Regions from separate parts of the Homo sapiens genome. Here regions 2, 3 and 4 are each linked to region 1. Evidence: promoter capture Hi-C in 16 types of primary human blood cells and fetal thymus (Javierre and others, 2016). All regions are on one chromosome and are shown on one strand. Each heading gives the region's core, a stretch centred on a gene start or on the middle of the fragment in contact. The rest is flanking DNA. Distances are from core to core; before and after follow the strand shown. Region 1 holds the start of TM4SF19 (transmembrane 4 L six family member 19). Region 2 holds the start of PAK2 (p21 (RAC1) activated kinase 2). Region 3 has its middle 23 kb from the start of CEP19. Region 4 holds the start of NRROS (negative regulator of reactive oxygen species).

The links. The method cuts DNA at HindIII sites, captures the fragments that hold promoters and counts their contacts. A CHiCAGO score of 5 or more calls a contact.
Region 2: a contact is called between the fragment with the promoter of PAK2 here and the fragment with the promoter of TM4SF19 in region 1, in 7 of 17 cell types (naive CD8 T cells, monocytes, total B cells and 4 more). The highest score is 13.5, in naive CD8 T cells.
Region 3: a fragment that was not itself captured here is called in contact with the fragment with the promoter of TM4SF19 in region 1 in 2 of 17 cell types (M2 macrophages and M0 macrophages); the score reaches 7.1 in M2 macrophages.
Region 4: a contact is called between the fragment with the promoter of NRROS here and the fragment with the promoter of TM4SF19 in region 1, in 6 of 17 cell types (M0 macrophages, M2 macrophages, naive CD8 T cells and 3 more). The highest score is 12.9, in M0 macrophages.

Annotation. Positions count from the first base shown.
Region 1 is chr3:196,335,636-196,341,256 of GRCh38, forward strand. TM4SF19 (transmembrane 4 L six family member 19) reads right to left here and starts at 2,753. Exons shown (of 5, transcript NM_138461.4): 1 at 2,629-2,753. TM4SF19-DYNLT2B (TM4SF19-DYNLT2B readthrough (NMD candidate)) reads right to left here and starts at 2,785. Exons shown (of 6, transcript NR_037950.1): 1 at 2,629-2,785. RefSeq lists enhancers at 2,277-3,476, 2,843-3,137 and a silencer at 2,886-3,057. The HindIII fragment of the contact is 5,119 bases long and covers 2,382-5,621 here.
Region 2 is chr3:196,737,572-196,743,192 of GRCh38, forward strand. PAK2 (p21 (RAC1) activated kinase 2) reads left to right here and starts at 2,286. Exons shown (of 15, transcript NM_002577.4): 1 at 2,286-2,586. RefSeq lists a silencer at 2,077-2,866. The HindIII fragment of the contact is 10,729 bases long and covers 1-5,621 here.
Region 3 is chr3:196,686,397-196,692,017 of GRCh38, forward strand. No RefSeq gene overlaps it. Among named protein-coding and RNA genes, the nearest start is that of CEP19, 23 kb to the right of the region's middle. The HindIII fragment of the contact is 434 bases long and covers 2,039-2,472 here.
Region 4 is chr3:196,637,312-196,642,932 of GRCh38, forward strand. It overlaps NRROS (negative regulator of reactive oxygen species), which reads left to right and starts at 2,383. Exons shown (of 3, transcript NM_198565.3): 1 at 2,383-2,564. RefSeq lists silencers at 2,020-2,449, 2,470-2,569 and enhancers at 3,020-3,139, 4,308-4,657, 4,678-4,737. The HindIII fragment of the contact is 14,541 bases long and covers 1-5,621 here.

The DNA of each region.
Region 1 (5,621 bases), core at 1,503-4,002:
TCCCCCATCAACCCTCTGGCTGACAGGCCACCGGACTCCTCAGTCACAGCAAGGAACCTGTCCTGCTCCTGGGAGCAGGGCGCCTGTGGAGAACGGCCCCCTCACAGCCTGCCCACACTGCTGCGATGTCCCCGCATGTCTGCACATCCTCCCTCCGAGACGGTCCCATCGTGCAGTGCGGGGCTTGCAGTGTGTAATTCTGTGTTGAGGCAAATTAACCACCCAGGGTGTTAACAACTCACAACTTTAATCCACTGCCCACCCAGATGTCTGACCGGGGCCCAAGGAAAGATGGGTGTGTGGTTGGCCTTTCAAGCGGGTGCTCTAGATCATGGGGCCAGGAGACGCCGTTGTGCAGGAATGCATTTAGTGCCTTCAAATCACGGCACCTCTGAGAAAGCACCGTCTACACACTTCAGCAACATCAACCCCCCTGACGATCTCTTCTACAGAAAACGTTCCCATCAGAAAAGTCTGTTTTTTTTGTTTTTGTTTTTGTTTTGTTTTTTGTTTTTTTTTTGAGACAGAGTTTCACTCTTGTTGCCCAGGCTGGAGTGCAATGGCGCGGCCTCAGCTCACTGCTACCTCCGCCTCCTGGGTTCAAGTGATTCTCCTGCCTCAGACTCCTGAGTAGCTGGGATTACAGGTGCACACCACTACGCCCGGCTAATTTTGTATTTTTAGTAGAGATGGGGTTTCTCCAGGTTAGCCACGCTGGTCTTGAACTCCTGACCTCAGGTGATTCACCTACCTTGGCCTCCTAAAGTGCTGGGATTACAGGTGTGAGCCACAGCGCCCAGCCCAGAAAACTCTTAAAGGGGAAACTAAAAATGATGGACAGCGAGGGAAAACTACCAGCTGGAGCATGGCTTTTGGATGAGTGGAATTCAGAGCCCTGGCTGTCCGCCAATCAAACACTAAAAGCACTTGCCGCACTGCGGCTTCGTGTGAATTTCACCCCTCCTCCTGACTTTATTCCCCTAGAAATTATAACATTTGGAGAAACCCTTCCAAAAATGTGAACCAGGAGGTTAGCAAAGAGGTGGCCTAATTTGATATCTGAAGAGACAAGCAAGATCAGAAGGTAAAACCTTAAAACCAGGCTGCTGGGGAGTTCCTTGTTCTGTCCTGAGGTCCTAGCTAGGTGAGCACGTCATCGGCTAGATGTCCAGGCAACAACAGAAGTGATCGGCTCAATTCCATGGAGGAAGAGACCGCACATTCTCTACATCTGTGTCTCTCCCTCGCCACCCAGCAAGGCTTTTCTTTCATTCTTCCTTCAGTCGGATATTTATTAAGTGATCACTACCTGACAGACACTTGGGGGGCTAGGGATATAACGATGAAAAAGATGTAATCCCTTTCCTTGAGGAGCTTAAAGTCTAGTGGGGACACTGCTGACGCAAAAAGCAATTCTTTTTTTTTTTTTTTTTTTTTTTTTTTGAGACACAGTCTCGCTCTTGTTGCCCAGGCTGGAGTGCAGCGGCATGCTCTTGGCTCACTGCAACCTCCGCCTCTCGGGTTCAAGTTATTCTCCTGCCTCAGCCTCCCAAGTAGCTGGAATTACAGGCATGCACCACGCCCGGCTAATTTTGTATTTTTAGTAGTGATGGGTTTTCGCCATGTGGGTCAGGCTGGCCAAAAAGTAATTCTAATCAAGTGTGGTAAGAAATAGAGCAGACATGAGCAGGGCGGGAGAGGGCCTCTACCCCAGTAATGTCAGGTGACTATCAGGTGATGGCCAGGCGGTTGTTACACTGTCTTTCTAAAATAATATTGGTCACAGCCAGCGTTGGGAAAGACAGTCTCCCAATAGATAGAAAATACCTGAACTTGGTGATCAGCAGCTTCCTGGTAAGAGCTCAGGAATTGGGCGAGTGGGCTCAAGCATCTACACTAAGAAGCAAAATGGTGGAGTTTAGCTGGTGTGTGTGACCTTCCTCTAGTGCTGCTCCGCGGGTAAGGGAAAAACGCCTCAAGTGAGCATGCGCACGACTTCAGTAAACACACTGCGCATGCGGCCCCTCCCAAGTGCCTGTGCGGCAGGCAGGCGCCAAGTCAAGGGTCTAACAGCACATTTGGGTGTCTCAAGTCACGCACTTGGCCCTTTTCCAAGTGTACTTTACTTCCTTTCATTGCTGCTCAAAAACTTTTTAATAAACCTTCACTCCTGCTCTCAAACTTGCTTCAGCCTCTCCCTCTGCCTTAAACCCACTTCTGCCCCTCAGCCGAATCTCTCCCCCGAGAAGGCAAGGATTGAGTTTGCTGCAGACTCGCTGGATTCACAGCTGGTAACAGTAAGTACCAGGCAGGGGCATCCAACTTAAGGTGTCATGGAAGCACATGGAGGAACCTAATCCTATCTGGCAGAAGCAAAACGAAGCTTCCCGGAGGAAGGGCTGCCCATGCCCAAACTTGATGGACGATGAGATACTAGGCAGGAAGAGTATTCTAGGTGCAAAGGCCAGAAGTTGACAGACTGAGGCAACAGGAGAAGGTAAGTGAATGGCGCAAAGTCACACAGACGCCAAGCTGCAGAGCCAGGCTCACTGGAGTGGAAGCGTGCACTCTCATCTGTGAGGCTAGGCTGTTCCCTGGCCGTCACCTCACCCTTTCATCTCTGCTTACCTGCATCTGGTGTCAAGAATCAGAATGGGAGAGACAGAACCTGGAGAAAGGCTGCGTCTTCAGAGTGGGGCTCCACTCCTCCAGCTCCAGGGCTGGACCTGAAGGTTGTCTTTCCAGGACTCTTTCCAGGAGGGCCAGGGAGGCTCTGTATATACGTAGAGGTCACCCAGGCGTGTGTGTGTGCGCGCCCCCACGCCCCTGCCCACAGGCCTGCATTGAAGGCGCTTCCGCTCCCCGGAGAGCCCTGTCCTGATGACCCACCCTCTGCTCATTTTCATGTGATTCTAAGGCAGGAAACGGGAGACATGGCCTCATGAGCTCCGCTGTCCTGATGAGTCACTGGATGCACCCGTGAGAAACACCTCACCCTCCGCTCTCCCCAGGCAGCAACACTTGCCACACCCCAGCTGTTCCTGTCCTCATCTGCCACCCCGCGAAGAATTTCGGCTCTTTGACAGAACAGCACCGAGCAGGGCAGCCACCCCTTTTTCCTCATCACTCTCCTTACCTTGCCCTTGGCTGACTCGATGTGTTGCATGGTTCCTGTACTAGACGTCTAACTTTTTTTTTTTTTTTTTTTTGAGACAGGGTCTCACTCTGTCACCCAGGCTGGAGTGCAGTGGCATGATCTCGGCTCACTGCAACCTCCGCCTCCCACACTCAAGCAATCCTCCCACCTCAGCCTCCTGAGTAGCTGGGATTACAGGCACCTGCCACCATGCCCGGCTAATGTTTGTATTTTTAATAGAGACGGGGTTTTGCCATTTTGGCCAGGCTGGTCTCGAACTGCTGACCTCAGGTGTTCGCCTCAGCCTCCCAAAGTGCTGAGATTACAGGTGTGAGCCACCGCACTCAGCCTCTTGTTCAAGCCCCAGGCCACTATCATCTTGTACCATACTCTCACCAAATTGCTGAGGATTTTGTGGTGCTCTCTGTGTGGGAGATCCGTGACCCTCTATGGACAAGCTCCTATTCAAGATTCAGTTCAAACATTCCCAGTGAAGTCTGCCAGGATTTCTTTACTCCGAGTTAGGTACTTCTTTCTCTATGCTCCCATTGCATTTTAAACATCTAGATATTATATACAGTAAAGTGCACAAATCTTTTCTTTTCTTTTTTTTTTTTTTGAGACGGAGTTTCACTCTTGTTCCCAGGCTGGAGTGCAGTGGCACAATCTCAGCTCACTGCAACCTCTGCCTCCTGGCTTCAAGCAATTCTCCTGCCTCAGCCTCCCAAGTAGCTGGGATTACAGGCACGTGCCACCACGCCTGGCTAATTTTGTATTTTTAGTAGAAACACGGTTTCTCCATGTTGGTCAGGCTGGTCTCAAACTCCCGACCTCAGGCGATCCACCCGCCTCCGCCTCCCAAAGTGCTGGGATTACAGGTGTGAGCCAGCACGCCCAGCCTAAAGTGCACAAATCTTAATGTTAAAGTCTGATGAATTTTTACATGTATACCCTGGTGAACCAGCACAGAAATCAAGATACAGGACATTCCAAATCCCCAGAGGTTTCATTGTGTCGCCTGTCATTCGTATCCCTTGTCCCCAGTGTTAACTTTCATTTTGGCTCTTATAATAATTGATTAGGTTTTAGTTGTTCTTGAATTTCACATAAATGGAATCAAACAGTTTTCTTTAAAAAAAAAAAAAAAAAAGGCGGTTTTGCTGTGTCATCCAGGCGGGAGTGCAGTGGCACAATCATGACTCACTGCAGCCTTTTGCCTTCATAGGCTCAAGTGATCCTCACACTTCAGCCTCCTGAGTAGCTGGGACCACAGGCAAGCGCCACCACGCCAGCTGATTTTTTAATTTCGTGTACAGATGGGGTCTCACCATGTAGCCCAGTCTGGTCTCGAACTCCTAGGCTCAAGTGATCCTCCTGCCTCGGCCTCCCAAAGTGCTGGATTACAAGCGTGCGCCACCGCGCCCAGCCCAGTATGGCTTTTGTGTGTGGCTTTCTTCACTCAATATTCTATATGTAAGATTCATCCATCATGTAATTTATTTTTCTTTTATTGCTGAGTATTATTACATTGGATATTACAACTTTTTCTACTCTTAATGGACATTTATATTTTCAACTTTTGCCTGTTATAAATAATGCTGCTATGAATATTCTTCTGCATGTCTTTTGAAGGAACTATGCACTAATTTTTCCAGGGAATATTCTTAGGAGTAGGATTGCTATCATAGGGCAGGTGAATATTTAATTTTGGCAGATATTGCCAAACAGATTCCCAAAGTAGTCCTAATTTACACACCCACCAGCAGTGTGTGACAGTTCCAGTTTCTACACATTCTCACAAACATTTTTAATTTTAGGCATTGTGGTGGGTGTTTAGTGTAATCTCCTTGTGTTTGAATTTGCATCTCCTTGATGAGTAAGCACCTTTTCATATACGTATTAGCCATTTGAAGATCCTCTTTGAGAAGTTCCCGTCCATGGTTTTTGCCCATTTGTTATGGGTTATCTTTTTTTCTGTTTTCTGGTTCATTATAATTCCAGGTATGAGACCTTTATCAGGTAAATTTATTGTGAATGTTTTCCCCCAGTTTGTGGTTTGACTTTTTACTCTCTTTATTATGTCTTATTTTATTTTATTTTATTTTATTTTATTTTATTTTATTTTATTTTATTTTATTTTATTTTATTTTATTTTATTTTTTGAGACAGAGTCTAGCTCTGTTGCCAGGCTAGAGTGCAGTGCCACGACGATCTTGGCTCACTGCAACCGCCATCTCCCGGGTTCAAGAGATTCTCCTGCCTTAGCCTGCCGAATAGCTGGGATTACAGGCATGGGCTGCCACGCTCAGCTAATTTTCGTATTTTTAGTAGAGACAGGGTTTCACCATGTTGGCCAGGATGGTCTCAATTTCCTGACCTCGTGATCCACCCTCCTCGGCTTCCCAAAGTGCTGGGATTACAGGCGTGAGCCACCCCGCCTGGGCTTACTTGAAGAGAAAGTACTGATTTTAATTAAGCTCCATTT
Region 2 (5,621 bases), core at 1,036-3,535, 400 kb after region 1:
TACAGGTGTGAGCCACCGCGCCTGGCCTACTTATTTCATTTTCAAAGCTGTTTGGTCGTTAAAAAAAAAAAGCATCTTGTTTCTTGCTCGTGTTTTCTAGCTCCTGTCTTACTTTCTTTAATCATTTAAATAGGCGTACTGTATATTCTGTAGCCATCAATTCCAGCAGCTAAAGTCTGTGTGGGTTTCATTATGTTCTTTGTAGTTTCTATTGACTCACTCATCGCTGCTTATTTCCTCAGGTGTATTGTATTTCGGGTGCTCATGTTTGGCTTCGGAAATCCTGTTTATCTGTGAAATCCTTTGAGACCGAGGTTGAGGGTACACCTGTGCAGTCAGGATTTGTATTTGTTTCTTCCAGGCCCCCCAGAACTCCAGCCTGGGACCACTTTCTTGACAAATTTGAACTTTAAAACCTTAGTGAGGGAAAATTCTAAAGGGTTATTAATTCTAAAGGGAAAATTTTCTTCTGCCCTGCAAGCCCACTGCAGGCCAAAGTAAACAAATGTCCTGTGTGTCTCCCTGGGCTAGCATAGGGTTTTTTTTCCCCCCAGTCTGTTCTTGGAGGGTATAGCGCCTTGAATTTCCAGTCCTATGCAGGATCACAGTCCTGACTTCTTGTATAGGCCCAAGTCCTTGTCTTTAGTTTCCTGTGCACCTATTAAAACTCTAGAGATTTCTGAGATAAGTAGGTGCCCTCAACACAACCATGGCTTCACTGCCCTGCTTACCACTCTGGTGTCCTGCCCCTTCTTCAGGTTGAGTGTGAAATTTGGAAGACTGTCAGAAACATTCTATTTTCATTCTTGCAAGTTATGCCTTTGAAAGGATGTCTTATTTATCCAGTGTTTCTGTGTGTTTAATAATCAGAGCATTTTTCAGGTTATCTCTTACTGTGCCATGTTGCTCCTTGATTCCTTTCTCTCCTGTACCCACTGCATCAATTGAGTTTTTTGCTCTACATTGATAGAGAAGCACAATTCCTCTTTCTTTCCACTGCCTTCCTACTTTATTTCCCTTCTATTCTTGCATCTCTATACTCCATTATCCACATTGCAGTCTAGTGATCTTAAAGTGTAAGCCAGGTAACATCGCTTTCCTGCTTAAAAAAGCCTTTTAATGGTTTTTTGTAATATAGACTTTTTACCATGGCATTCAGGATCTTTCATGACCTGAATCTTGTCTGCTGTAGTGTTTTCTTAATAGTACCGCCTTCTTGTTCTAGGCCCCAGCTACACAGGCCTTCTTAACTGACCGTAGCAAGCCCTTTTCTTTCTTCTCCTGCCTGTATTGCTTTTCTCTGGGTGCTTCTTATTGCTGTCTCTTTCTGTTCTTGCCTTAAGTGTCACCTCCTTAACGAGGCCTTCTCCGACCACCCTATCCAAAGTAACCTCGCCAAGTTTTTTCTTATACCAGGTGTGACTACTTTAATTACTGCGTCCTCATATAAGCTCCACAAAGGCTTGGTGAATCGTGTTCACCCTTGCATTTCTTTTGTGTTTTTTGTTTTGTTTTTGAGGCATGACGACTCTGTCACGCTGAAGTGCAGTGGCCCGATCTTGGCTCACTGCAGCCTCCTCCTCCTGGGTTCAAGCGATTCTCCTGCCTTAGTCTCCCGAGTAGCTGGGACTACAGATGCGTGCCACCATGCCCAGCTAATTTTTGTATTTTTAGTAGAAACGGGGTTTCATCGTGTTGGCCAGGCTGGTCTCGAACTCCCGACCTCAGGTGATCCGCCTGCCTCAGCCTCCCAAAGTGCTGGGATTACAGGCGTGAGCCACCGCACCTGAACCACCCTTGTATTTCTGATGCTTAACAGTGTCTAGTCCATATCAGACACTCAAATATTTGTAGAATAAGTGAAACATTGATGAACTCCTCCGTGGATAAAATAGGGAAGTCTTAATTTGCAAGGAGGTGATACTTAATTTAGCAGCAAAATTTTAGTTAAGAATTTGTAAGCAAAAAAGCAAAATGGATAACGGATGAATTCCCAGAAACAAATGTCGCGGAGCAGATGTGTATAACAGCAATCGTCTGTCAGCGTCTTCCGTCGGCAGAGACCTGCTTGGAGACAATGCTGAATTAAATGAGGGACTGGCTGCTCCTCTCAATACAAAGACTACCCAAGGAATAAAAGCAACGTCTATCACCGAACTACTACTCCCAGCGGCCCCCGCGCGGGCCTGCCCATGGGAGGTGGCGCTCGTCTCCGCCCCGGGGAGCTCCGGCTTCGGGGCGGGAGGGGTTCTGGGTTCTGGCCCCGCCCCGCCCCGCTCCCCGCCGTCTTCCTCCCCCAGGGTTGTGGCCACGCGCAGCGGCGGCGGTTGTTCCGCTTCCCCTCCGGCCCGGGCCGTCGCCATTGCCGAAGGCTCCCTCCCCTCCCCTCCCTGGCGTGCGCAGGACTCCGCCGCCGCTGGGCCTAGCGGTAGCAGCGGCTGCTCCAGCGCGGCGTCTCTTCCCGCCCCGCTTCCCCTTCCCTCCCCTCCCCTCCCCGCACCGCGCGCTAGCCCGGGGCGGCTCCGCAGCCCGCCGGGAGCTCTGACCGAGGCGCCTCGCTGGGGCGGGGACCTTGCCTTGCCCGGGGTAAGTGCACACAGGCCGGCCGGCGCGGGACGCAGGCCGGGTCTCTTCCTCCTCCTTCCTTCTCCGTGGCCTGGCGGGCGGGAGCGGCCCGGGACGGCCGACCTGCCCCGCGCGGGGCCGGGGAGCCGCCACCTGCGTGCTGGGAGCCGCAGCTCCTGGGGCGGTGGCTCATTGTCTGCTCCCCAGGGCCGTTTTCTTCGCTGGCTTTAGCCAGAAATGGGAAGCTCGCTGGGCTGCGGAGGTCTGACTCTTCCTGGACCCAGCCCTGCTCTGAACCTCGCGGCACCACGGTCTCTGCCGACTCTCGGTCTTCCCTCCCCTCGCGTTTCACCCTCTTCCTTTGCTCCGTTTTCTTAATGCTGGACCAGACTCTCCGGTTTTGTTCCTTGATTTTTCCTCTCACTGATTCTCAGCCCCTGCTTGCTCGCTCTCTGTTCACCCGTTTCACTGCTCAGGAATATTGTCGCGAGTAGCTTGACTGTTTTCTCAGCTCCAGCCTGTAACCTCTTTTCCACATTCCACATTGGTAAAAACGTAGAGCGTCCCGGGCGCTTGAGGGCCACCGCTTACGAACTGATCTTTCGGAGCTTCTCCTCGCTCCTGTTTGAGCTTCAGCCTAGGGGTGAAATTTGCTTCTTTAGATAACTTAGGTGAAGTTAAGATTGGTTTTTCACCATGTTTGGCTCTCTTGGAAACACACGCACGCACAAACACAAAACGTTGCCACTCAACCTTTTAACTAATTCTTTAAAGATAAGTCATCCAAGAACAGAAGCGTGTCATCGTCAGTGGGTGTGAGGTTGTACCCATCCTTGTATCTTAATTTTAGTAGTACTCTCCCTGGGCAGTGTGAGCGTGATTTGTTGTCCCTTGATAAATAACGAACTCCGGTTGATATCATTATCTCACTTCTGCGTTACAGGCGATGTGTCCTTTCTTTGTTTTCTTTTTTAACCTTTATAAAAAGACAAAATGGTTAGGCCTAAAATTAAACTACGAAGAGCTGTGTTTTGGATCAAGGTTGTGCACGTCACGTTTTTTCCCCTGCTGTGTTCGACTCTTCCGCTCTTATAAGTAGGCAGGATATTGAAATGTACAAGAATTTGCTCTGGGGATTTTGTTTTTGTAGGGTTGTCCAATAGAATAACACTCAGTAAAGTTACATTGGGATGAAGGCAGTGAATAGTAATTTTTAAAGCAGGTTAAAACTTGTCAACTTTGCCAGAAGGTCTGTGGCTTCTGTAAAGCCCACTCATGCTCGTGTATATATGAAGAGCCTTTTTCATGTTCTGTTAGGAGTATGGATTTCAGGCAACTTTTTCACTGTGTCATCCTCGGCTATTAAATCTTTCGAGCTACTTATTAGCCAAGCACATTGATTGACACTTATTACGGAAAGTGAACCTGTAATAGATGTAGGTCTTAAACCAACTTTCCGATTTGGTAACAGGTTGACCTAAATTCAGTGTATTTTGTGTTTTCACTAAGTAGCCCATTGTTACCTTTCCCTCCAGCAAGGCTCTGAAAAAAGTGGCTCCAATACTCAGCTTCAATACTGTCATCATTTCTTAAATAGTAGTATCAGTTGTCCTTAACTTAATGGATGTTTTATTGGCCTGAGGGATTAAGGTGTAGAAAGGTTGGAGTTTTGTTGGAGTTTGAAACTTGGTCTGTAGATGTTGGCTTCTCTGCCAGTTTCTTCTAATCAGCAGATATTTTTATGAAGGAAGAGTTCCTGGGTATTTCACTTCCCTTAGGGCCTTGGTTTATGGTTTACTCTCATTCAGAGAGAGATACTATTCTGGACTCCGTGCTATTTAATACTAACCTTGCAAACCCAAATTCAAAATTAAGTTTATAGTTCGAGTATACAGGCGATAGGGCTCTCTGATCTTTATGATAGACAGGTTCCCAAGTAGATGCGGTTAACAATTAATATTTCTTTTTTTTTTTTTTTTTTGAGACGGAGTTTCAGTTGCCCAGGCTGGAGTGCAATGGTGCGATCACCGCAACCTCCGCCTCCTGGGTTCAAGCGATTCTCCTGTCTCAGCCTGCTGAGTAGCTGGGATTACAGGCACGCGCCACCACGCGCGGCTAATTTTGTATTTTTAGTAGAGATGGGGTTTCACCGTGTTGGTTAGGCTGGTCTCGAACTCCCGACCTCAGGTCATCTGCCCGCCTCAGCCTCCCAAAATGCTGGGATAGGCGTGAGCCACGGCACACCACCAACAGTTTCTATTTCAATTATACTTTTTAAGAGAGACTAGAACTTGTTCAGGTAGCTAAAGATAAACTTTCAATTATACTTTTCTAATATTTAAGAACTTCAAGTAGCCAAGGATAAAATGAGTAGGAATTGTTAGATTCTTCCTTTTATCCATCAAAATCGATTATTATTATAATAATATTTGAGTATATTTCTTTTGGCTTTCTGACTTTTACACTTTTGGTTAAAATTTGAAACTGGGTCTTCTTCGCCGGGCGCGGTGGCTCACGCCTGTAATCCCAGCACTTTGGGAGGCCGAGGCGGGCGGATCACGAGGTCAGGAGATCAAGACCATCCTGGCTAACACAGTGAAACCCCGTCTCTACTAAAAATACAACAAAAAATTAGCCGGGCTTGGTGGCAGGCGCCTGTAGTCCCAGCTACTCGGGAGGCTGAGGCCGGAGAATGGCGTGATGAACCCGGGAGGCGGAGCTTGCAGTGAGTCGAGATCGCGCCACTGCACTCCCGCCTGGGCTACAGAGCGAGACTCCGTCTCATTAAAAAAGAAAAAGAAAAAGAAACTGGGTCAACTTCAAGACTTTAAGTCGTAAAGGTTTCCATCAGTTTGGTATAAGAGTTGAGTTTCCAGACTAATCAGAGGGAGGGTGTTAATTGCAAATTGTGTGTCCAAGCTCTTCCTAGTATCCTTTTTGTGCCTTAACAGAGCAGAATAGGAAAGGAAAAAAATCCCTCATTGCCCCCAAAAAATAAAATACTGGTTGTTTTCTTCTGTGATCAGAGTTGAGTTTCATCACTTCTTCCCTTCTAG
Region 3 (5,621 bases), core at 1,006-3,505, 350 kb after region 1:
TCCTAGCTGCTTGGTGTCAGCACTGGGGCCATTCCCCCAGCCTGTGACCTTGGCATCCCCTATGTTGACCTGGGCTCTTCCTCTGTCCTTCCACCTGGATGTCCTTTAGTGGGTCCTGGCCAGGGTCCTATTGCTCCCTTTAACCTCTGGAGCTTTTGTCTGCTACATTTTCTTACACTGATGCTGACTCAGACCTAATGCTGGGTGAAGTTGTGATGTGGCTGAAGTGTCTGGGTGTAATTCAAGAATCCTCGAGGGAGAATCAGGAGTTTTGGGTTCCGGTTCCAACTTGGTAATTTACCAAGTCACAGCCTCCTGGAGCCTGGTTTTCCCTATCAATAAAATGAAGAAATCTGTCTTCTCTAGTTCATAAGTTGTCAAGATCAAATGTGTAAATACATAGGAAGTTCTTAGGAAAGGGAAGGCTTCTATCACTGTAAAGAAGTATCATTGATAACTAGTATATGATAGTCTGCTGCCGTCTGCCTTCCCCATATGTACCCTATCATGCTCTGAGTCCCTCCTTCCTGCCTTTTCCCCATCTCTTATCACAACCTGCTTTTTGTATGTGATTGCTATTTACACCTTGATAATATTAAATCAGAGATATACACAATTAAATTTGAGATAGTTACGCCTTGTCCAGAAATATTCACATATTAAGCTTGATCGCTATTTGGGTGGTAAAAAGTTAGTCCTTGTTCAAGAAATGTTAACCAACAGTTTGGGGTAGGAGGGAGAAGTGAGGCTTTCCTTGTGTTCTGAAATCACTATATTTCATGCCTGAATTAGCCTGTCTGAGCTGGAATTCAGAGTGAATCTTTGGATCCATGTTTTAAAGGGACAACTATAGAGACTCCCATTGCTTTTTCTATGCACATAGTTTTTGTGCGGTTTTTACTGGAATCTTATTACAGTTACAGTTACCATCCCATGGACCAACATGGTCCATCGAGGGCCTTGCAGTGAGAGGGTCAGTCCATAGATGCTGGAGCCACATGACGTGGGTTCAAATTTCAACTCTCCCACTTATTAGTGTGTGACCTTGGACAGGCTGCTTCACTGCTCCGGCCCTCAGTTTTCTAATTTGCAAAATGGGGGAGATTAATAATACCTATCTCCAGAGGTTTGTTGGGAGGATTAAATAATAGGCCTAAAACACCTAGAGCAGTGTCTGGCACTGAGTACACATTAGCTGGAATTTATTTCAATTGCATGTTTGAAAAAATTTAAACCATTCAGAAATTTAATTTTAAAAATAAAAAATGAAAAGTCACTTAAGCTCTCTATCTCCCACTTTAACCCCACTCCTCTTTCCACAGGCAAACTGTTAACAGTCACTTTGCACACATCATTCAAGAGTTTTGTTTTGTTTTTGTTTTTGTTTTGAGACTGAGTTTTGCTCTTGTTGCCCAGGCTGGAGTGCAATGGTGTGATCTCGGCTCACTGCAACCTCTGCCTCCCAGGCTCAAGCGATTCTCCTGCCTCAGCCTCCCGAGTAGCTGGGATTAAAGGCATGCGCCACCACGCCCGGCTAAATTTTGTATTTTTAGTAGAGATGGGGTTTCTACATGTTGGTTAGGCTGGTCTCAAACTCCTGCCCTCAGGTGATCCGCCCGCCTCGGCCTCCCAAAGTCCTGGGATCACAGGTGTGAGCCACTGCACCTGGCCTCATTCAAGAGTTTTTACTGATATATTTTTTAAATCAAAGAATTATAATATACTATTTGGCAACTTGTTTTCCTCACTTAACCATGTAGCTAGGAGTTATTTCCAGGTCACTATGCCCAGTGCTACCTTCTTCTGCCTAAGGGTTTCATAGTATGCCGCAGCATGGACACTGCGCAATTCACTTAACCAATGTCTTATTGATGGATATTTGGAGTGTTTCCAGTTTTCGATATTTGGAGTGTTTCCAGTTTTCCACGATCATATTCGCTTTTTGCACATTCTTTTCTCTTTATAATTCAGAACCATCAAGCTGAAGCCCAGCAGGGCTTCCTCATTTCATCATCATAGCTCATTTCCTATTGAGCAAAGCTTCTTCCTCGGGTCAGCTCTTGCCACACTTCTTTCTACAGAAACAAGAAGTGGAGTTATCTGTCCTGGGCTTCGGGAGTGAACACACCCATTCCCACGCTGCTGCTGCCCACGCTGCTTTGCCCACACAGCACCACTGTCCCTGGGGATCCTGAATAACAATCTGCTGAGCAAAATCAACATCCCTTTGGCTACAGCGAGGCTAATTGCACTTAATAGGTTGTAAGAGTTCTGGTACAGACAGGCTCCTTCCCATGATGTATTTCACCACCTCATTGAAGAGATGTGTGTTCCAGTGAGAGTCTGTTCCTCCGTGTCATCCCAACAAATGCTCCTATGTCCAGGAGCCATTGTCAGGAATGCTCGTTCCTCTCCCTTCTACACAGACAAATCTCCCTTTGAGGACACACTCAACTCCAACTCCTTTTGTGAAGCTTTCCCTGTTGCTCCAGCCTGCATGAATCCTTCCCTCCGCCGAATTTCTTCAGCAAGAATGCCTTCTAGGCCAGGCACGGTGGCTCATGCCTGTAATCCCAGCACTTTGGGAGGCCGAGGCGGGCAGATCACCTGAGGTCGGGAGTTCGAGACCAGCCTGACCAACATGGAGAAACCCTGTCTCTACTAAAATACAAAATTAGCTGGGTGTGGTGGTGTGTGCCTATAATCCTAGCTACTCAGGAGGCTGAGGCAGGAGAATCACTTGAACCCGGGAGGCGGAGGCGGAGGTTGTGGTGAGCTGAGATGGCGCCACTGCACTCCAGCCTGGGCAACAAGAGCGAAACTCCATCTGAAAAAAAAAAAAAAAAAAAAAAAAAGAATGCCTTCTAAGTGCATAGCACCTGTGTGAGGGTGAAACCCTGGCCCACAGAGCCAGTGGTCGTAGGATAGTTAAAATAGAAGGCCACAGTATATTGGGAGGCCAAGGCGGGCGGATCACGAGGTCAGGAGATCGAGACCATCCTGGCTAACATGGTGAAACCCCGTCTCTACTAAAAATACAAGAAATTAGCCGGGCGTGGTGGCGGGCGCCTGTAGTCCCAGCTACTCGGGAGGCTGAGGCAGGAGAATGGCGTGAACCTGGGAGGCGGGGCTTGCAGTGAGCAGAGATCGTGCCACTGCACTCCAGCCTGGGCGACAGAGCAAGACTCCGTCTCAAAAAAAAAAAAAAAAAGGCCATAGTATATCAGAATTCCATAGAAATAAGATTATTACAAAAAGCCTATAAGCAGAGAGACACTGGAATATACTGAAGCTAGTATGAGCAAAAGGGAATTGTGGGTTGGAACACCAATACCCACAGCAACAGTGAAGGAAAGCAAAAGCCTCGCACAGCGCTTCTCAAAGTGTGGTCTGGGGGCTTGTTAGAAATGCAATTTCTTGGCCAGGCGCAGTGGCTCACACCTGTAATCCCAGCACTTTGGGAGGCCAAGGCAGGCGGATCACCTGAGGTCAGGAGTTCAAGACCAGCCTGGCCAACACGGCAAAACCCTGTCCCTACTAAAAATATAAAAATTAGCCAGGCGTGGTGGCACACGTCTGTAATCCCAGCTACTCAGGAGGCTGAGACAGGATAATTGCTTAAACCTGGGAGGTGGGAGTTGCAGTGAGCTGAGATTGCGCCACTGCACTCCAGGCTGGGTGACAAGAGCGAGACTCTATCTCAAACAAATTAAAAAAAGAAAAAGGAAAATAAATGCAAATTCTTAGGCTCCACCCCAGACTTACTGAATCAGAAATTCTGGGGGTGGAACGCAGCAATCTGCGCTATCGTGAGTCCCACAGATGAGTCTGGTGCATGCTGAAGTCTAAGAACCACTAGCTTGAGTAGAGATTCAAAGTTTGGGTCTCTAGCACAGAAAGACTTTTGCAACAACGAGTCTCGGGAGGCGTAAAGCAAGCAGAGAGGACTGCAGCTGTTAAAAGTAGTCCTAAGAAGATTCTAGGTAGGAGAACTCAAGCGTGGGGAGCTGGGAAACCCCAGCTGGCAGGGAGGGGTCCTACCTGGCGAGCTGCCCCCCAAGGGCCTGCGCTGGTCAAGTGTCTCCCGAAGGGTCTGCCTGCGGGCAGGAGAAACACAGGTGTCCAGGACTAGTGTTCTGACTGATACGTGGCCCTAGGATTTCTCTCCTGGGACCACTTGGAGAGGCAACCCTTGGCTGCCAGAGGAAGAGACTGATGGAGGCAGCAGGACGGGAGGAAGGCCTGTGGGAGGAGGGTGCCAGAGTGGGAAGGGAGCATGTGAGGAGAGTCTTGATGGTTAATGCCAATTACCTCTAGAAAATTACCAGGCTTTACAGACTCAAGAGCTACTACCCAAAAGATTGAAAAAACTGCCTTAAAAAAAAAAAAAGCAACCCACCCCAGGGAAGAGAGAGAGCTATTTAGAAAACTCCAGAAGTAAATAAGCTCAGACAAATCTGAGATTTATCTGGTCTCTGCTCCTGAGTCCTGTCTGAGAATCAGGCACCTAAGAGACGGGGTGTTGTGTCCACCAGAGACGGTGGAGAGGCCGGGCACGGTGGCTCACACCTGTAATCCCAGCACTTCGGGAGGCCGAGGTGGGCAGATCACCTGAGGTCAGGAGTTCAAGACCAGCCTGGCCAAGGTGGTGAGACTCTGTCTCTTCTAAAAATACAAAAATTAGCCAGACTTGGTGGCGCACACCTGTAATCCCAGCTACTCGGGAGGCTGAGGCAGGAGAATCGCTTGAACCCGGGAGGCAGAGGATGCAGTAAGCCAAGATCACGCCATTGCACTCCAGCCTGGGTGACAGAGCGAGACTCCATCTCAAAAAAGAAAAGAGATAGCGAAGAAAGCCATCATCTCTGGTGGTTTGCAGGTTTGATTTTCATAGCAGAACCCTTAATGAAGATCTCAAGTAGAACTCTGAAATGGGAAAAACTTCAACATGTAAGAATTGAGCTGCTGTGGATAAATTAGGAGTCCAGTTCCCACCTCCTTATTCTTTTTATCACTCAGAACAATGACCACTTTTACACCCGACCCCAACCCTAGCTCCCCAGGATGCTGCTCCACAGAAGGCAGCTTGAAAAACGCCAATGGTTAACCTCTCTGGTGCCTTGCTGGGCTGCTGTAGGGACAGCGGGGTCACTGCTTCACAAAGTCACCCTTCCCGTTGCTGGCGGTTTTGATCTTCAGAGAGTTCTGTCTTTTCTTTTTTCTTCTTCTTCTTTTTTTTTTTTTTTCTGAGGCGGAGTTTTATGCTTTTCCCCCAGGCTAGAGTGTGCAATGGCGTGATCTGGGCTTGCTGCAACCTCTGTCTCCTGGGTTCAAGTGATTCTCCTGCCTCAGCCTCCCGAGTAACTGGAATTACAGGTGCACACAACCACGCCCAGCTAATTTTTGGATTTTTAGTAGAGACGGGGTTTCACCATGTTGGCCAGGCTAGTCTCGAACTCCTGACCTCAAGTGATCCACCCTCCTTGGCCTCCCAAAGTGCTGAGATTACAGGCGTGAGCCACCGCGCCTGGCCAGAAAGTTCTGTCTTTTCTTGAGGTGAGAGCTGCTCCCTAAATTTCCAATCACTGTGCCTAGTTTTTCCCTCTAGAAGTAGTAATATA
Region 4 (5,621 bases), core at 1,133-3,632, 300 kb after region 1:
AAAAGAAAAAAAAAAGACCATTGGTTTACTAGATTTTTTTTTTAGGGGTAGCAGCTGCCTTTCTCAAAAGAAATTCTATAGAGAATCTCCCAATGTATAAAACATATCAAAGTAGAATTCTTGGGATGTGGAGGGAATGGGGTACCTGGATCCCACCTGCCAGTCTTTAGGCATTCATGAGGAACCCTTGAACCTGCTGAACCCTGTAAAAGGGCTTTAAGCAGAGAGTGAGATGACCCAATACACATTTTAGAAAGATGCCCGTGGCAGCTAGGTGGAGTTGACATTGGACAGGGATGAGATTAGGGGCAGGGAGCGAGTTTCAGGAGGCTATGAAAGTGGTCCAGACATGAGCTGATGAGGTCTAGACCCAGGGCAACAGCCTAAGGATGAAAAGCAGGTTGGATTCCAGAAACATTTCTGAGTTAGAATCAGCAGGAATTGGGGGTCAATTAGATATGAAGGATGAAGTCTGTGAGGGCTGGACTGCCTGGGCTGAAACATACCGTAAAGTGTGACAGCCATACAGGAGAGAAACTGCTGGGACAAAGGATAAGAGTTGAGTTTGGGGCCAGGCACAGTGGCTCATGCCTGTAATCCCAGGACTCTGAGACTGAGGTGGGCGGATCACCTGAGGTCAGGAGTTTGAGACCACCCTGGCCAACATGGTGAAATCCCATCTCTACTAAAAACACAAAAATTAGCTGGGCGTGGTGGTGGGCGCCTGTAATTCCAGCTACTTGGGAGGTTGAGGCAGGAGAATCACTTGAACCTGGGAGGCAGAGGTTGCAGTGAGCTGAGATTGCGCCACTGCTCCAGCCTGGGTGACAGAGCAAGACTGTCTCAAAAAAAAAGAGAGAGAGTTGAGTTTGGGATACATCATGTTATGGTGACTCTGGGACATGTAGCAGTTGATTGACCAGTAGACAGTTAAAAATGCAAGTCTGGATCTTCTCTCGTGGAAGAGAATGTTGGAGCTAGAAATTAAAATTGGGGAGTTACCAACTGATTGGTAGACACAAAAGACATGAAGTAGAGAATGTGCATACAAGAGAGAAAGAGGCCTGAATCAAGCACCTGGGTTTGCAACAATTTGATCTTTATTTAGCTTTTTCATTGGTGTGATTGTTATTACCATTATGAGATAATATTTTATTTTTAAAATTATTTTTATTTTTTTAAAGACGGAGTCACACTCTATCACACAGGCTGAAGTGCAATGGCGTGATCTTGGCTCACTGCAGCCTCAACCTCCCTGTGCTCAGGTGATCCTCCCACCTCAGCCTCCCAAATAGCTGGGACTACAGGTGCGTGCCACCAGGTCTGGCTAAGTTTTAAATTTTTTGTACATATGGAGTCTCAGTATGTTGCCCAGGCTGGTCTTGCACTCAGGCGGTCCACCTGCCTTGGTCTGCCAAAATGCTAGGATTACAAGCCTGAGCCTCTGTGCCCGGCCATGAGTGAATATTGTAGAAAGCAGAGACAATGTGCCAGATGTTTGGAGTGAAAAGGACTTGGCTCCTGTTCTCTTAGGATGGACAATGCTACACACAATCCCAAATCACAGGCTATAAGAGAGGTGACCCAATCCTGCAGGACAGTTCAACGTTTCAGATTTGAAGGGGAGTGAGAGAGATCAGAACTGGAGGCCCCTTGTCTGAGCCCCCGACTATGGTGGTCCACGTCACTCCACACGCAGCAGGCACTGTAAATATTTCACCTTCTCTAGACGACAGTAGTTCCTCGAGAACAGGAGCGCTGGGGTAATGCATATGAAGCTCTTAGCACAGTGTCTGGCGCTGCTTCAATGATGGCTATATGATCAATTATTCTTACTCCTTTGAATTCTTGGCAAGAGCTGGCAGGGAACTTTGTACACATCAGGTACAAAAAAACCCATCCGCGCAGTCTAAGATCAAGAAGCTCTTGGCACTCTCTGACAGTCCTCGACAAAGCAATTCCCCTTCTTTCTAACACAGGGTCCGTAAAGGAGATGATCCACAAGGACCGGCTGAGTGGATAAGAAGACAGACTGGCTGAGCGGCTGACCCTGCCAGACGACAGGCTGTGCCTCTTTACCACGGTGCTGCCGTTCCCAAAGTCGGCCTCAGCTTGGTCCTTGGCTGGAAGCTCGTAGCAAAGTTTCTGGGTCAGCAGACCTCATAGGCAAGGGGCCCCTAGCTGGCCGCCCCCAGCCCTGCCAAGGCACCAACGCAAGAAAGCCGGGGGAGCCTCGGTCGCATTGCTGGAAGATCGTCTAAACATCCCCGCTGCTCGGCCGCTAGGCCGGCAGGTGTTCGGGCCCCGCTCCCCCGGCCCGCCCCACCCCCGCGCCCGCGCCGCGCTTCCCTCTAAGAGGCCGGGTCTGAGTGAGCCTGTGCTGAGTCGCCGAGCAGCCCGCTCTCCATGTGACTTCAGTTTCCGTCCGTTCCTTCCGCTGGTGCTAAAATAATCTGATGCCCCACAGCAAGGAGGTAGCCCAGCCCCGCGTTCGGCTGCTCTCGAGGAGGCCGGAGCCCCCGGAGACGATGCGCCCCGCGCAGCCGCCTGCGCCTGCGGGAGCCGTGAGTATTTCCCGCGTGGGGGCGTCCCCGGGGCACAGCCGGGGCCCTTCTCCAGGTGGGCGAGCTCGAGCGAGGTTGGGTGGTAGGAGGTCAGCGTCCGCGGCCCGCAGCTCAGGGCTCACGAGGAAGCTGTGGCTTGCTGCGTCCAAGCGCCGCCGCTTTTGTGCTGGGCGTGGGGGCTGCAGCTCTGGGTGGAGGTGGAAATACCTCCCTCCAGGAGCACTTAGAGCTGAGAAAGGTGGTGCGACGTAGTGGAAACCACGAGGGCTTCAGATTCAGACGTGGGTTTGAGTCCTGGCTCTGCAGGGAGCATGTGAGCAGACAGTTAAGGTTTCTGAGCCTCAGTTTTCTCATCTGCAAAATGGGAACAGAGATGCTCCCTCCCTGGGCTGGGCGACTGGATATGATGAGACCGCTCTGTGCACACTCAGCATGCTGAGCACTGGGCTCTCCTTTCCTGTCCCACAACGTGGATTGAGAACCACTATCTCATAGATGAAGACACTAAGACTGGTTAACAGCAACACCTATCACAGATGCCGTCCACGTGCCAGGCCTGTCCAAGGCCCTGGGGATACAGCTGTGAAAATGTGCAAAGCCCCTTCTCCCACAGAACGTTTGTCCTTGGGAGATTCACTGGGGCTCTGTGACTTGGATCTTAGCCTAGACTTAGATCCATGGCTTATCAGAGGGAGACTAACAGGAGGGCGACGAAGACTCGGACGCTCTTCCGTAGCCCTCGTGGCCCCTGCATGTGGGCCGGCTTCTGAAGGGGTCAGCGTACTTCCCCACGTACCCAGGAGCTAGACGGAAAGAAGTAAGGAGCCACTGGTGTGGCTTTGTGCTGCCTCTGAGAGAAGGTGGACACGTGCCAGTTGGTGGCTGCGACTGGAGGAGGCCGGATCGGGGGTCCTAGGAATGGAGCCTCTCCGGACAGGGCTGGTCGGGGCTGCTGTGCTTCCCTAGGGGCTGAGGGGACCCCACCGGAGGCTTCTTCATGATGGGCACAGCCCGTTAGGAGTCTGGGTGCTAGAAACATTCAGCGTCTGTGGCCCTCCATGCTTTCCTGTGTGCTCCTCACCTGCCGGCTGTGACACACAGACTGTTCTGTGGATGCTGAGGGTTTGCTGGGCTTTACATTTACAATACGTATTTATTCTCCTCACACACCTCTTAGGTTTGTGTGTGTGTGCCCGAGAGTCCCTAAAGGAGATTATAGAATCATGGGCCCAGGAAAAAACCTTAACTCCTGCCTTTAGGTTAAAAAAACAAAACAAAACAAAACAAAACAAAACAAACTCAGCTTCACAAAGAAGGCACTTTTTAAAAATATATATATTTATTTATTTATTTTTAGAGACAGGCTCTTGCTCTGTTGCCCAGACTGGAGTTCTGTGGCACGATCACAGATCACTGCAGCCTCAAACTCTTGGGCTCAAATAATGCTCCTGCTTCAGTCACCTGAGGAGCTAGGACAACAGGTGCACACCACCATGCCAGCTAATTTTTAAAATTTTTTTGTAGACACAGGATCTTGCTGTGTTGCCCAGGCTGGTCTCAAACTCCTGGGCTCAAGCAATCCTCCTGCCTTGGCCTCCCAAAGTGCTGGGAGTGTGGGCGTGAGTCACCGCCCCCAGCTTTCATGTAATGAGTGCCCTCATGGGAACTTCATGAAAACACATTCTCTTATAGTTTTTAAATTCATCATCCAAGAGTTCCTGCTCTTTGATGATGAGACATACCTGGTAGACTCCAAAACAGAGAGCAGACGCCTAGTATCTTTGTTCTGGGGTGTGCATTAAGAGTACATTGACCTGTCTGTCTCCAGTCTTGACTCTTTTGGAAGAGAGATGCTAGTACTGATGACAACCTGCATTCTGGCTGCGGTGTGCGTCCACACTGCACAGTGTGCACCAGACTCTCGTATGGACAATGACTGTCCCTCACATCAGGCGCAGATCCATTTTAGAGCCTCAGAAGTCAGGAGAGGGTGGACTTTCAACCACGACTGAAAACACTGTCTTTCTTAGGACATGCTGTGTGTATGACACACTTACAGATGTCTGTGCTCACTGATGCTTGTTGATGTGTCATCGCACATCAGTGACAAACATTTGTCATGTTTTTGCCTTTGGTGGAACTTCTTTATTATACTCACTTTCCTCCCAAACCATTTTTCTCAACTTCATCATGAAGCAAATGTCATGTGGTCATTCTGTGATGGGGCTCAGGGCTAGGTTAGGTGATGATTTCTGAAAGCTCAGAGACGTGAAGGAAAAAGGACATCAGTGCTTGGATCTTAGCTCTTATAAGCCTCACGTGCAACAATAAACCCGAGTTCAAGAATCAGATTCTTAGATAGATTGGTTTGGTAGCAAATGACAAAAAACCAACGTAAATATGCTTCGGCAAAAAAGAAAAAAAAAAAGGATTTATTGTTTCAAATAACTGAAAAGTGTATGGGCAATAGTTTCAGGCATGGCTGAGTCCAGATGCTCAAATGGCATTGCCAGGAATCCATCTGTCTCCTTTCCTCAGCTTTGCCTTCCTCTCTGTGGGCCTCTTTACCAGGCAAGTCCCGGAGCTGGTGGCAAAGATGGCTGCCTGCAGCTCCAACTATATTCCTACTGGTTTGGCATCTGAAACAGAAAGAGCAAGTCTCCTTTCCATGAGTTCTAGCAACTGCCCGTGGATTGATTCTCATGGGCTTGGCTTTTATGATGAGCCTGTTAGGAAAATGGAGTGCTCTCACGGGCCCAGCCTTACTCATAGGCCCCGCCCTGGAACCAGGAGCTGGGATCAGACCCGAACACACAGACTTTTGAAGAAAGGAAGGGGGTTGGTTGCACAGCCGCGTAAGGGTACTTAACACTACTGAATTGTACACCTAAAAATGGTTAAGATGGTCACTTTCGGCCGGGCGCGGTGGCTCATCCCTGTAATCCCAGCACTTTGGGAGGCCGAGGCGGGTGGATCAGGAGGTCAGGAGTTTGAGACCAGCCTGGCCAAAATGGTGAAACCCCGTCACTACTAAAAATACAAAAATTAGCTGGGTGT